Linked DNA regions of Homo sapiens: regions 1 and 2 are each linked to region 3. The links are contacts of gene promoters, found by promoter capture Hi-C in blood cells and fetal thymus (Javierre and others, 2016). All regions are on one chromosome and are shown on one strand. The core of a region is centred on a gene start or on the middle of the fragment in contact, and the rest is flanking DNA. Distances in the headings are between cores, read along the strand shown.

Region 1 (4,114 bases), core at 1,149-3,648, 330 kb before region 3:
GATGTTTCCAAAAATGAAATGGAAATTTCACCTTAATTTTATGAAATGCATGTCTTTGCAAAAGGGTAAAGAAGGGAAATAATGATTTTTGAGCTATGGGCAGTATTCTGATGATTTCTGAACATTATCATGAGTTCTTGATACCTCCATTGTTGTTGGCGGGGATTTGAGTTTGAGTTGAGTGGAACTTCAGGTTTGTTTGGTTTGGTATTTACGTTTTTCCGTAGCTTTCCTACATATATATTCATTTCTGAATTCAAGTGGTTCATTTATTTCACACAAATAACTTTGGTTATGTGATTCAGTTTTTTGTTTTTGTTTTTATTTTTGTTTTAGATAGGGTCTTGCTCTGTCACCCAAGCTGGAGTACAGTGGCGTGATCATAGCTCACTGCTGCTTCGAACTCCTAGGCTCAGGTGATCCTCCCACCTCAGCCTCCCAAAGTGCTGGGATTACAGGCATGAGCCATCGCATCCAGCTCAAAATATTTTTAGGATCAATTTAATTCAAGGCCAAGCAAGTTGGTGTAGCTTATTATAGTTTTTGGTTTATGACTTATTTTTATTCAATGTCTTGGGTTTTATAAATAAAATCATAAACTTTAAAACTGTTCATAAAACTGTGAACTATATTTAAAAATCATCTGGCTGGCAACTCAGTTGGTTTTTATAATCTGAAAATTTATGCTTTTCTTCAACTCTGAGAATTTCTATTCTACTTTCCCATTATTACCTTCTTCTACTCTCTTTTCTTTCCTTTTGTAACTTCCATTAAGCAAATACTGGACCTTGGGGGATTTTGCCTACATGGCTTTCAACCATTTTCACATACTTTCCATCTCCTTTGTCTTTTGCCCGGTGTTTGGGGAAAATTTCTTTGGCTTCTGTTTCCACTAATTTGCCCTTCAAGTAGGTCTGTTCTGCTTCTCAACTAATGAATTTTCAATATCAGAAATGACTTTTTAAATTTCTAAGGTTTCTCACTGATTATTTGTTGTGGATGCAATATCCTTTCAAGACTTGCTGATTAAAATTAAATTATTTAACATTTATCTTGTTCCTTTTATTAACTTAGTTTCCTCTGATATTATTTCCTTCTATTAGTTGGGTTTGGTGCTTCTCTTTCATGGTATTGGTTCCCCTCTCCCCATAAGATATTTGGTGGTTGTCCTATCATCCCTTAATGTGGGAATGGGCTTGTCTCCTCTTTCTGCTTATCATAGCCTATCTTCAGGGGCTGTGAAGAAGGGTCAGGACATGCTATCCCAAGAGAGTGAATGGTTTCTGTCATTTCTTGGGGTCACTAGATCCCTGAGCTCTGCCCCTTGGGTCCCAGGATCCCCATTAACTTTTTTTTTAAGTCCTGCAGGCAAACACCTGATATTTAATGTGAGCAGGACAGAGGAGGCTCCTAAGTGAATTATTCTGTCTCAGGGCCCCTCCTCCTCTTGTATCCTTTAACTATTGCTTGCAACTTCCCTAAACTATTGCTCCTCCTGAATCTGTTTTGGTTTCCTCTGATTTTGTTTCTCTGTGAATCAGATCTTGCATCTTTTCTGTATCTCTGGATTTCTTGAACATTGTTGGAACACTGATCCCCTTTTCCTTATTTTCCTGTGCTTTTAGATGCCTGTTTCAGACATATCTTCTAATGAAATTTGGGGTAGAAGAGAAGCTAAATGCGTGTATTCAATCCACCATCTCCATCCAATCTTTACTTTTTAATTTATTTATCATCTCTACTTATTATTAAACAATACAAGCTTATTGTGAAAAACTCAAAGACTACAGAAATGGAAAGTGAAAGTTCCCTCTTATGTTAGATGATTCTAACATAAGTCTCAACTTATATCTTCTTGGCCTCACCTGTTGGTTTCAGCTAGACCTGAGTAGACAGTTCTGTGAAGGTTTACCCCCCACTCTCTGGCTGTCAACATCTATTCTCAAATGCACACCTTCTCTTCTGGCCCCAGAACTCTTCCAAATCTGCAGACTGCCTATGTGGAGCTTGCTGGGTAGCTCGGAAGTGTAGGTTTTCAACATGGGTGGGAGACCAGTGGGGGCAGTCCTTTGTCCAACCAGGATGAGGGTTAATCTCCTATCCTTCACATAGACAATTCCAAGAGGTATTCTATACTCTTCTGAGGAGGTCCCTCCAGACGTGATCCCTATTGCCCACAATGATGACCTTGATAACGAACATATGTATGTGTTTCCTTCTCCCTTCTTTTTTTTTTTTTTTTTTTGAAACAGAGTCTTGCTTTGTCACCCAGGTGGGAGTGCAGTGGCGTGATCTTGGCTCACTGCAGCCTATGCCTCCCAGGTTCAAGTGATTCTCCTGCCTCAGCTTCCCAAGTAGCTGGGATTACAGGTGCGCACCACCACACCCAGCTAATTTTTGTGTTTTTAGTAGAGATAGGGTTTTGCCATGTTGGCCAGGCTTGTCTTGAACTCCTGACCTCAAGTGATCCGCCTGCCTCGGCCTCCCAAAGTACTGGGATTACAGGTGTGAGTCACCATGCCCAACCTTTCTCCCTTCTTTTATTCTCCCAATTTCTCATTCCTGGCCACAGAGATCTGTTCCCCTTTCCCTATTATTTGACAATGCCCTTTCCTCACTGCAAGCCTAAATTTCCTCTCTTCCTCAGTTCTGATTTATCATTTCACTGTAACTCTATTAGCTGTAAAGCATTTGGGGATGCTGTCAGGATAACATGCTCTGTAGCAAATGAGGTTGTATTGAATTATTTAGCTTTCAGCTAAAGTGGAGATAACTAAAGCAGCTGAGCTGGTTTGTAAAATGTTGGGGTAATCTGTCTGCTGATTTGGAGTTTTATCATATTAATTTTTTCTTATGGTTGAAAATTATAAATTTTAAGGCTACAAAGAAAAATATGTATGCAACTATTCAGTTCAGTGCCACAGACCTATAGCTAAGGAATTATCTGGCTTGCATAGTATATAATTACGTAGCTGCAGAACCACCATTCTAGAGAACCATGAATTTATCTAATAAGTTTATTCATACAAGCTTTTAAAAAACCATAAATACATAATTTCCCTCCATTTTTTTCTAACAAAAATAGATGAAGGATTTCTTCTTGAGATATATAATAGTCTCAGCTTTTGAAGTTGGCCTGTTTTTCTTGAGCTTTCCTTGCCAGAATTTGACTTTTAAACATTTTTTTTCACAAAACAGAACTTTCTCTTTTTAACTCAGTAATAGAAAAATGCATTCTTAAATGTTGTCAACAAAGGGGAGGAGGGGATCACTGCGAATCTATCGATGACCATGAATGTTTTTGTATCCTCTTTCCCATATTACTAGTGTCTCTTGGAAAATTGAGCTGTAATAAGGATCCAGCCAAGAGGAGGGTGGAGTGAAGAATTCTGTGGCTCTGTAATACCTGGGGCGTTTGTCCCACTCAGCACATCTCAGTGTCTAAATACCCACCCTCAAGAAGTGGGACTGCAGCAGGAAGTGAAGTATCTTTGCATATGTTCAATATATAAACTAAACTCGAACATCTGGCAAACACCCCTTTCCTGGGTGAATTCTGGAAAACAGCACAATTATAATCCCAAGCAAATAACTCAGGAGTAAGACTGTTCCCTTGTTAAGAACACCAGGCAGCATCAGTAAAAGTTAAAACTTCTTCTGCATCTATGCGCTTTTAATCTCCACGGCCATTTCCATAATACCTGAGATTACCTGCGTTGATAGCTGGTGAGAAATCATCCCAGGCACCGCAGGTGGAGAAAAGAGATGAAAGCTACCTCAAGGCGTACACGTAAACCTTACTGAACAATGACCTTGATCGTTAGAAAGTCAAGAAAATGTACTGCCTTGCAAGCTGCCGGTGTTCTATTGAGTTTCTCTCCGGGGGCAACTCGGAGATGCCTTTTTGGCACCATCGGTTCTAGTATTTCCTCTGGCCTGCTGCGCCGCGCCTCATCCAGGCTTGTAGTGAGGCACCCCCACTCGCCCGGAGACCCGGGCCGGCCAGGAGGTGCCAGTGGGCAGGTGTGGCAGCCTGCCTGTTGATTACAGTCCCTACAATGTGCGAGCTCCTTGGGACTGCAGGCTGCGCGCCGCCAGCTTTGCCTGGTTCGTC
Region 2 (3,986 bases), core at 162-2,661, 350 kb before region 3:
ATAAATTACCAATAAATTAATTGCTAAATCATGTCTTCATTCTGTGCCCACCAGAGGAAAGATTCTGCCTAAGACATGGATGACTCAACAAGAAGGACATGCCCTAATATCATCCAATTTAACACCTCCTTGTTCTCTAGGAAATGACCTATAAACTTAGCAGTTTGTTACTTCATTCCTGGAAGTTTAGCAACAGCCTCCTGACTTCAATTGGTTCTTTTTTTTTTTTTTTTTTGAGACGGAGTTTCACTCTTGTTGCTCAGGCTGGAGTCCAATGGCGCAATCTCGGCTCACTGCAACCTCTGCTTCCCAGGTTCAAGCGATTCTCCTGCCTCAGCCTCCCAAGTAGCTAGGATTACAGGCATGTGCCACCACACCGGTCTAATTTTTTACATTTAGTAGAGATGGGGTTTCACCATGGTGGTCAGGCTGGTCTTGAACTCCTGACCTCAGGTGATCCACCTGCCTCAGCCTCCCAAAGTGTTGGGATTACAGGTGTGAGCCATCACACCCGGCCTTCAATTGGTTCTATACACTATTTTATGTATCTCTTTTATAAATAATTGGATCCAGCTGGGTGTGATGGCTCATGCCTGTAATCCCAGCATTTTGGGAGGCCAAGGCAGGAGGATCACTTGAGCTCAGAAGTTCAGGACTAGCCTGGGCAACATGGCAAGACTCCGTCTTTACAAAAAATACAAAAATTAACTGGGCGGTGGGTGTGGGGGCGTGTGCCTGTAATCCCAGCTACTTGGGAGGCTGAGGTGGGAGGATCACTTGAGCCTTGGAGGTCGATACTGCAGCGAGCTTTGATTGCACCATTGCACTCCAGCCTGGAAAACAGAGACCTTGCCTCTAAATACATACATACATACATACATACATACATACATACATACATACATACTGGTTTTTGTCAACTTGGGCTGAAGGAAGGTAGTGACCCTTCACAGGCAAGGTGTCTACATCAGAGAGCATTTCATTTCAAAATTCAGAATGGTGCTCAAAATGTAAATATACCTGGAAGAAGTAATATGATGATATTAAAGCTCAGGAATTCAATTTCACTCATATAATGTTTGGGGTATCTGCCTCATGCCCACCTTTCACAGTCAGGGGGCAAGGCAAGAAAAACCAGTGATCACAATACAGTGTAATAACTGCTCTTCGGGATGCTCCTGGGGCCCAGATAAAGGGCAGCCTGGGAGAGGTCAGAGAGAGGAGAGGACACAGTCTCAGCAATGATTTTCCAGAAGTGTTGATCCCTCCGCAGACTCTTTAAGCTTAGACATTAGGGAATGTTGGGCAGGGTGTTCCCCCGACACAAGGACCAACATGTGCAAAAGTGCAGAAATGCTGAGAAACAAGTTTGTAAGGGGTGGTACATAGGGGAGGTTGCATTGATCTAAGTAATGTCACATCCTTTCATGAAGAGGATAAAGTTTTGACCCTTTAGTCAGGGGATATTGGCTTCATAGTTATGCCTCGGCCCAGCGCTTATGAAGGTTGTATAATGGATTTTAAATTGCTCAAGCTTCTTCCTACCATATACCAGGATCACATTTTCTACCAAAGTGGTGGTATGGAGACATACAAATGTGGACTCGCAGCCCGGCTCTGTGACTTATTAGCCGTGATGAAACACTGTGGGAAAGGTACTAACTTCTCTGTTCCCTTTCCCTCATTTGCAAAATGGGAATGCACCTTCTTCATGGAGTTGCTGTGAGAATTAAAGGAGAGAATCCACATTACACACGGTCTGACATATGTATTAAGTATTCCATAAATGTTAGCTATGATGAAGATGATTCCAATGGACCTAATAAAGATGTAAGAACAAGTGGCTAGTAATCAAGGGATGGTAATTAACTGCAACCGAATCCCAGAGTTAAGAAAAGTCTTAAGAAGTCACTTAATATACTCCTTTGCATCTAAGATCAATGCTTAAATCAACACTGTTCGACCCTACCTGCCACCAAGGGCTCTAACTATACTCAAGGAAAGATTGGGAGTAGAGGGAAAGGGTGAAAGAAAATCACAAGTAGAAAGAAGGGAATGAGAGATAAAGGGAAAAGGAAGCGGAATGATAGGACAAATGAGATAGAAAATACACTTTCGTGGCACATCTACTATTTAAGTTGCCTATTCCTGACTTCAATCTTCCAAGGCAAGTGATGACTTCATTCAAGTTAAAAAGAACCAAAGGAAGAACTGGGAACTCCAAGAGGTCAATATATCCAATAATTCCAGAGAAGTCCAGGTATTAAAAGATCATAAGTAGAAGGAAGTGTTAAGAGTCATCTTTTATCTTTTTTTTTTTTTTTTTTTTTTTGAGATGGAGTTTCACTCTTTTGCTCAGGCTGGAGTGCAGTGGCATGATCTCGGCTTATTGCAACCTCTGCCTCCCAGGTTCAAGCAATTCTCCTGCCTCAGCCTCCCAAGTAGCTGGGATTATAGATGTGGGCCACCACGCCCAGCTAATTTTTGTATTTTTAGTAGAGACAGGGTTTTGCCATGTTGGCCAGGCTGGTCTCGAACTCCTGACCTCAGGTGATTCGCCCGCCTCAGTCTCCTAAAGTGCTAGGATTACAGATGTGAGCCACCGCACCTGGCCATCTTTTATCTTTTCTAATGAGCCGTATGTGTGTGTGTGTGTGTGTGTGTGTGTGTGTGTGTGTGTGATGTTCCCTCACTGTTGCCCAAACTGGAGTGCAGTGGCGTGATCTCGGCACACTGCAACTTCTGCCTCCCGGGCTCAAGCCATCCTCCAGCCTTAGCCTCCTGAGTAGCTAGGATTACAGGTGCACACCACTTTGCCTGGCTAATTGTTGTTGTTGTTGTTGTTGTTGTTGTTTTTAGTAGAGACAAGTTCTCATTACGTTGCTCAGACTCTAAGAAGCTCTTTATCAAACTTGAGAATATTTAGAGAATCTCTAGACAGATTATTGTGCGTATTAAGACTACTGATGTTATGAGGGGCTCGGAGACTCTCGCAGATACAAGCAAAAATGCTAGACCAGACATTTACAGGTGAAATCTCTCTCTGAGAACCAAATTTTAGAGGAGTAGTCAAAGGGAAACATCCTTATATCATCCATGTACAAATCAATGAATGCTACTATCATCACCTATTTGGTAGGAGGAATTTTAAAAAGGCCCAAGCTGTCAGTAGTTTGAACAAAATGGTGTTCCCTTCTGGGGCTTTTCAACATCGACTCACACGCCCATGTGATTCTGACCTGCTACTCTTTTGTTGCATTATTTTGTTAAGTGTTTACTCCTGAGAGATGATTCTGTCCTAATTATCTCTTACCCACATGTCTTTCGTTTTTTAGTTTGTGTTCTAGTTCATTTTCAGAGCGTTCGCTCTCATGACTGCTGTCTTTCTTTTGGTTTTTAGATCTTCTTCCTTCTCTTTCTTTAGTTCCTGGTGGTTGAGCAGGGATAATGCTGAACTGGGGCCAGGTGTTAATTAAGCAAAATAAGTCAAGCAAGTCAAGACTTCCAAGCATTTGGTTTCAGGTAAGTTAACCACCACAGCATTTCCTTAGAAATAATTTTATTTTGATTTGATTTCTGTAAGTCCTCTGGTTGGGGCTGTTATCTTTCTGCTGTGTGACAAAGCAATGCAAAGAGGATGCGTCAAGATACAGACGAATGACATTATTCAGCAACAAGGCAACAGGGCAGAGCCTTGTGCCAGAGGCCTCAATCCAGTCCTCAGCAAAATCTTGAGGACATTTTTTGATGTCACTATCTGTTTCTGGGGACATAGAGGTTTTTGTCTTTTTGCCAGAAGGAAAATTGGGTAGTGAATTTTCTGATTTGAAGGTTTATTCCTAACCCATGTTTCATTCCTAAACAACAGAGTAAAGACATCATCATGATGAACAAACAACTTTTAGTGTATATTATGTGTAAGACGCTGGCCAGGCACCAGGAGAACACACAGAGAGAATACATAATTTATACTCGGATGATTTACT
Region 3 (3,729 bases), core at 762-3,261:
GCTTACTTGTATAATTATCTGTAATCCTACAACTAGTCTTCTAATGGATCACCTGCATCTATTCTTCCTCTGCTTGAATCTAGCAGATTCTTTGAACATGCTCAATAAATATTTGTTGAGTACCTACTGAAGAAGTTCTGTAGCTGGCTCCAGAGACCTGAGGATGAATAAGATAGTTCCTGCCACTGAGGAGCTTACTGTCTAGTTGAGGGAGACAGCGAGTACATGAAAAGGGCTTTAGCATTAGACAAATCTTGGTTCAAACTATCAGTTCTGCTACTTACTGGCTGTATGACTTTGGTTCAGTTGCTTAATCTCCCTGAGCCTTGTTTCTTCATCTATAAAATGAGGACATTAATGTTCACTTTCCACAGTTGTTTTAAGAATTGGAAAAATATGCAAATATCTGGCACACAATCAGTGCACAACAGATAGTGTCTAGTATTAATTTAGCTATACACTTGTAAGAGTCAGTGTCTTTTTTCATAGAGATTAGAATCAGTTTTTTCTAATTTAGTAATTTTACCTTGTGAGATTCACCATCTATTGCAGCAGATATAATATGTTCCCATTAATGTTAACTATATTTCTCTAACTCAAAAAGGCAATTTTATAATTAAAAACATGGACTCTGTAAATCAAACAGACCTACATTTAAATAATCTTAGTCACCTCTGAGCTGTGTGATTGGGCTAAGTCACTTAATTTTCCTCAAGTCGCTGAACCCTTTGAAACCTCAGTTTCTTCATCTGTAAATTGGTTAACATGCAGCTGTTTCAAAGAGTTGGTAAACATTAGCACAGTGTCTGGTCCATGTGAAGCAGCTGGTAAGCGTTCAGAGAAAGGCTGTTCACTGAAATGATTGTTTCCTTCCAGATGGCAAAGGTTCAGTGGGTATTTATTCTCTATACTCTTCTGTTGCTTTTTTTTCCCCCAGGCACATGTAATTTTTATAAAAACTCTAATAAAGTGTTGTTAAATTTTACCTTCTGAATTCAAGAGTTCTGGTTTCATCTTTCCAGTACCACATCCCTAATCGTAATCCCAACTGCTGTAAAACGAAATGATTGCAGCAAAAATAATTAAAAGCTCAATTTACAATCCATATGCCACAATAAACCTTTAACAATAATTCCTACTTACTAACACATCTTTTAAGTAATAAGAAGGAAACAAAAAACAATGGTTCCTACTAGTCCCTCTTTACACTTTCAGTAAGAGTGTAGAATCCTAAAGCGTTAAACTTGAAGCTAGGATTTTATCGCTTTGATTGATTTTAGGTGTGGCTTCAGTAGAACGGCAGGAAGGAGGGAGAGGGAGAAAGGAAGGGAGGAAAGTAGGAAAAGAGGAAAGAAGCAGCGGAGGAAGGGAAGGGCGAAAGATAGGAAGGAAATTGGGACTACATATAGCTCATCATAGCAATCTACCAATTAATTGAAATTCAGACAATAAACTGATACCCAGGACAGCCTCAGCTGTCTGGTTCTGGAGACTTCCGGGCTCCAACACTGAGCCTGCCCTTTACAGGCAGTGGCAAAAAGTTAAGTACACCCTTTTCACCGTGGAAGCTAGCACCCACCAGCCTTTCTATCCAGAGCGGGGCTGCTTCCCCCGCAGTAGGTCTCCCTATTTTGCAACCAACCAATTAGAGGTGGTGAGGTGGGATTTCGTAAATATCTAACTACCTGCGCAGGGAGCCAGAATTCAATTCTGACCATCTGTCAAATACACCAGAGTTTTTTTTTTTTCTAGGCAAATATGGCCAGGTGTCTTTGAGAACCGCCAGCCCGGGGCGAAGGCGACGACCCGCCTCTGGAGGAGGGCGAGGGGCGCGGCGCCGGTTGGGGGCAGCAGGGCCCGCCTTGCGCCCAGCCCGGGTATGGGGGCGACCAAGGCTGCACTTACATCCATCAAGTAAGGGGTCTGCCCACCTAACCGCTTCCTCCTCGCATAAAACTCGGGCACCCGGTACATGGCCTCGCCCTGGAAGCCATACGGCGTCGCCGAGGATACCGCCCGCAGGCGCCTGCACACGGCTGCCCGGGGCGCGGAGCGGGGCGGGGCGTCGCTTCCGTCCTAGGCCGCGCGGGCTGCGGCCGCACCCAGGCTTCTCCAGCGATTTCTAAAGCCCAGCCTGGTGCCCCGTTTCCCAGTCTTAAAAGCCGTGGCGACGTATTGGCCTATCCATTGTAAAGCCGCCCAGGGCATAATTCTTCATGGCATTCCAACCTTGAACTTCATGAAGTTATTCACTTTACTGTTTTAATTGGAGTAACTACATTCAGTCCTATAGGGAAGAAAGATCCATTTCTTCCTAACTTTCATGATTAGCACTATTATTAAGTTCAAATCCAGGATGAACCTAGGTTGATGGGGAGAGCAGGGTTGAGGTGGGGAAGCAGGGTAGCCTCGTGGAAGAGAACATGGGTACGGAAATAAGGTTTTCATAACAGTTGTGCTGCTTAACAAGCTGTGGAATCTAGGACAAGACTATTCTGATCTTTCTTCTGAAAACACCAAATCAGGGGTTATGTGGATTTTTGGAGTGGTGTGTGTAAAGCACCAGTCTTAAGTACTCAAAATTAGTGTTGCTCAAAAACAAAGAAACTTGCTTAGTGTCAATGGGTATTCAATTGATATTTTTACATTTACACTTTTCAAATCATGTGTCTTGTAATTCCTTCTTGCAACGGAGTTGATAATGCTGATTCTGGCTGATTTTTTTCCTCCCAGCTCTAAGTGAGCAATGCTAGATGATGCAACATGATTGGGAATGCCTAGTATATTCTTTTGTATCACCACAGCTTAATTGGTATGAGAGGCTCATAAGTAGTGGATATATACTCCCATTAACTTTTAAGTTATGTCAGTAGTCATCCCACTGCTTCTTCTATTCCCACCCTCCCAGTCTCACTACTTGGTAATACACAATCACTGGCTACAGTGATTAAATAGTAATCATCTAGATTCATGTTCTGCTCACTTGAGTCCATTCTGGCAGCTGTTCAGTTGGTCCAGGTATATGGAAACCCACTTATATACTGGCCGCAGGCAAGGCTTTCTTACTACAAGATGACACGCTTGAAAAGGAGACTATCCCATATGCCAAGAGCTTTTCACCAAGTAGCGAACATAACTTGGGGTGGACAGGACAGGGAAATAATGAGGTAAAGCTCAAGAAAAGATGCAGACAGACCAAGGAATCTGGATGGCATCCAATCACTACATAATCATTACCGGGAAGACCACACTAGTGGTCAGTAAACCTCTTCAGTTCATCCCAATAATGTGTGGAGAAGTGCTGATAGAAAACTTAAGATCTATATATCTTATCACAGAATAAACTTAGGCTGTCTAATGTACAAAACTTAGGTAAAAATAAAAGTTGAGAGCCCAAAACAATAACTACTTAAAAATTAAAGGAGAAGTTATTTCGCATGTGATAGAGGGACATAATATTTAAAGGAAAGTTTCAGTAACTCTGAAGGGACAATCTTATACTTCTCTATCACTTTACCCCAAACAAAAGGAGGAAGAAAAGATTGTTTTTACATCTCTTAATCATTACAGTACTTATTTTAAAAAGTGACCCACCGATTTCCTAAGGTACATTTTTCACCAGTTAGGTTTCTTTTTAAATGACATTAGAAACTCACAACCAAAACTGGAAATATGATTGTCCCTGTAAAGAAGAATAAACACAATTGATGATATTTAGTAGGGATGAAG

The links. The method cuts DNA at HindIII sites, captures the fragments that hold promoters and counts their contacts. A CHiCAGO score of 5 or more calls a contact.
Region 1: a fragment that was not itself captured here is called in contact with the fragment with the promoter of PPP1R36 in region 3 in 1 of 17 cell types (M1 macrophages); the score reaches 5.1 in M1 macrophages.
Region 2: a fragment that was not itself captured here is called in contact with the fragment with the promoter of PPP1R36 in region 3 in 1 of 17 cell types (M1 macrophages); the score reaches 5.8 in M1 macrophages.

The regions. Positions count from the first base shown.
Region 1 is chr14:64,880,602-64,884,715 of GRCh38, reverse strand. It overlaps LOC105370534 (a long non-coding RNA gene), which reads left to right. Exons shown (of 3, transcript XR_943942.3): 3 at 3,328-3,835. Among named protein-coding and RNA genes, the nearest start is that of SPTB, 2.8 kb to the right of the region's middle. The HindIII fragment of the contact is 1,268 bases long and covers 1,765-3,032 here.
Region 2 is chr14:64,901,608-64,905,593 of GRCh38, reverse strand. LOC105370534 (a long non-coding RNA gene) reads left to right here and starts at 3,466. Exons shown (of 3, transcript XR_943942.3): 1 at 3,466-3,522. The HindIII fragment of the contact is 251 bases long and covers 1,286-1,536 here.
Region 3 is chr14:64,548,243-64,551,971 of GRCh38, reverse strand. It overlaps PPP1R36 (protein phosphatase 1 regulatory subunit 36), which reads right to left and starts at 2,011. Exons shown (of 12, transcript NM_172365.3): 1 at 1,906-2,011; 2 at 987-1,051. The coding sequence starts at 1,974. RefSeq lists a silencer at 1,856-2,145. The HindIII fragment of the contact is 10,629 bases long and covers 1-3,729 here.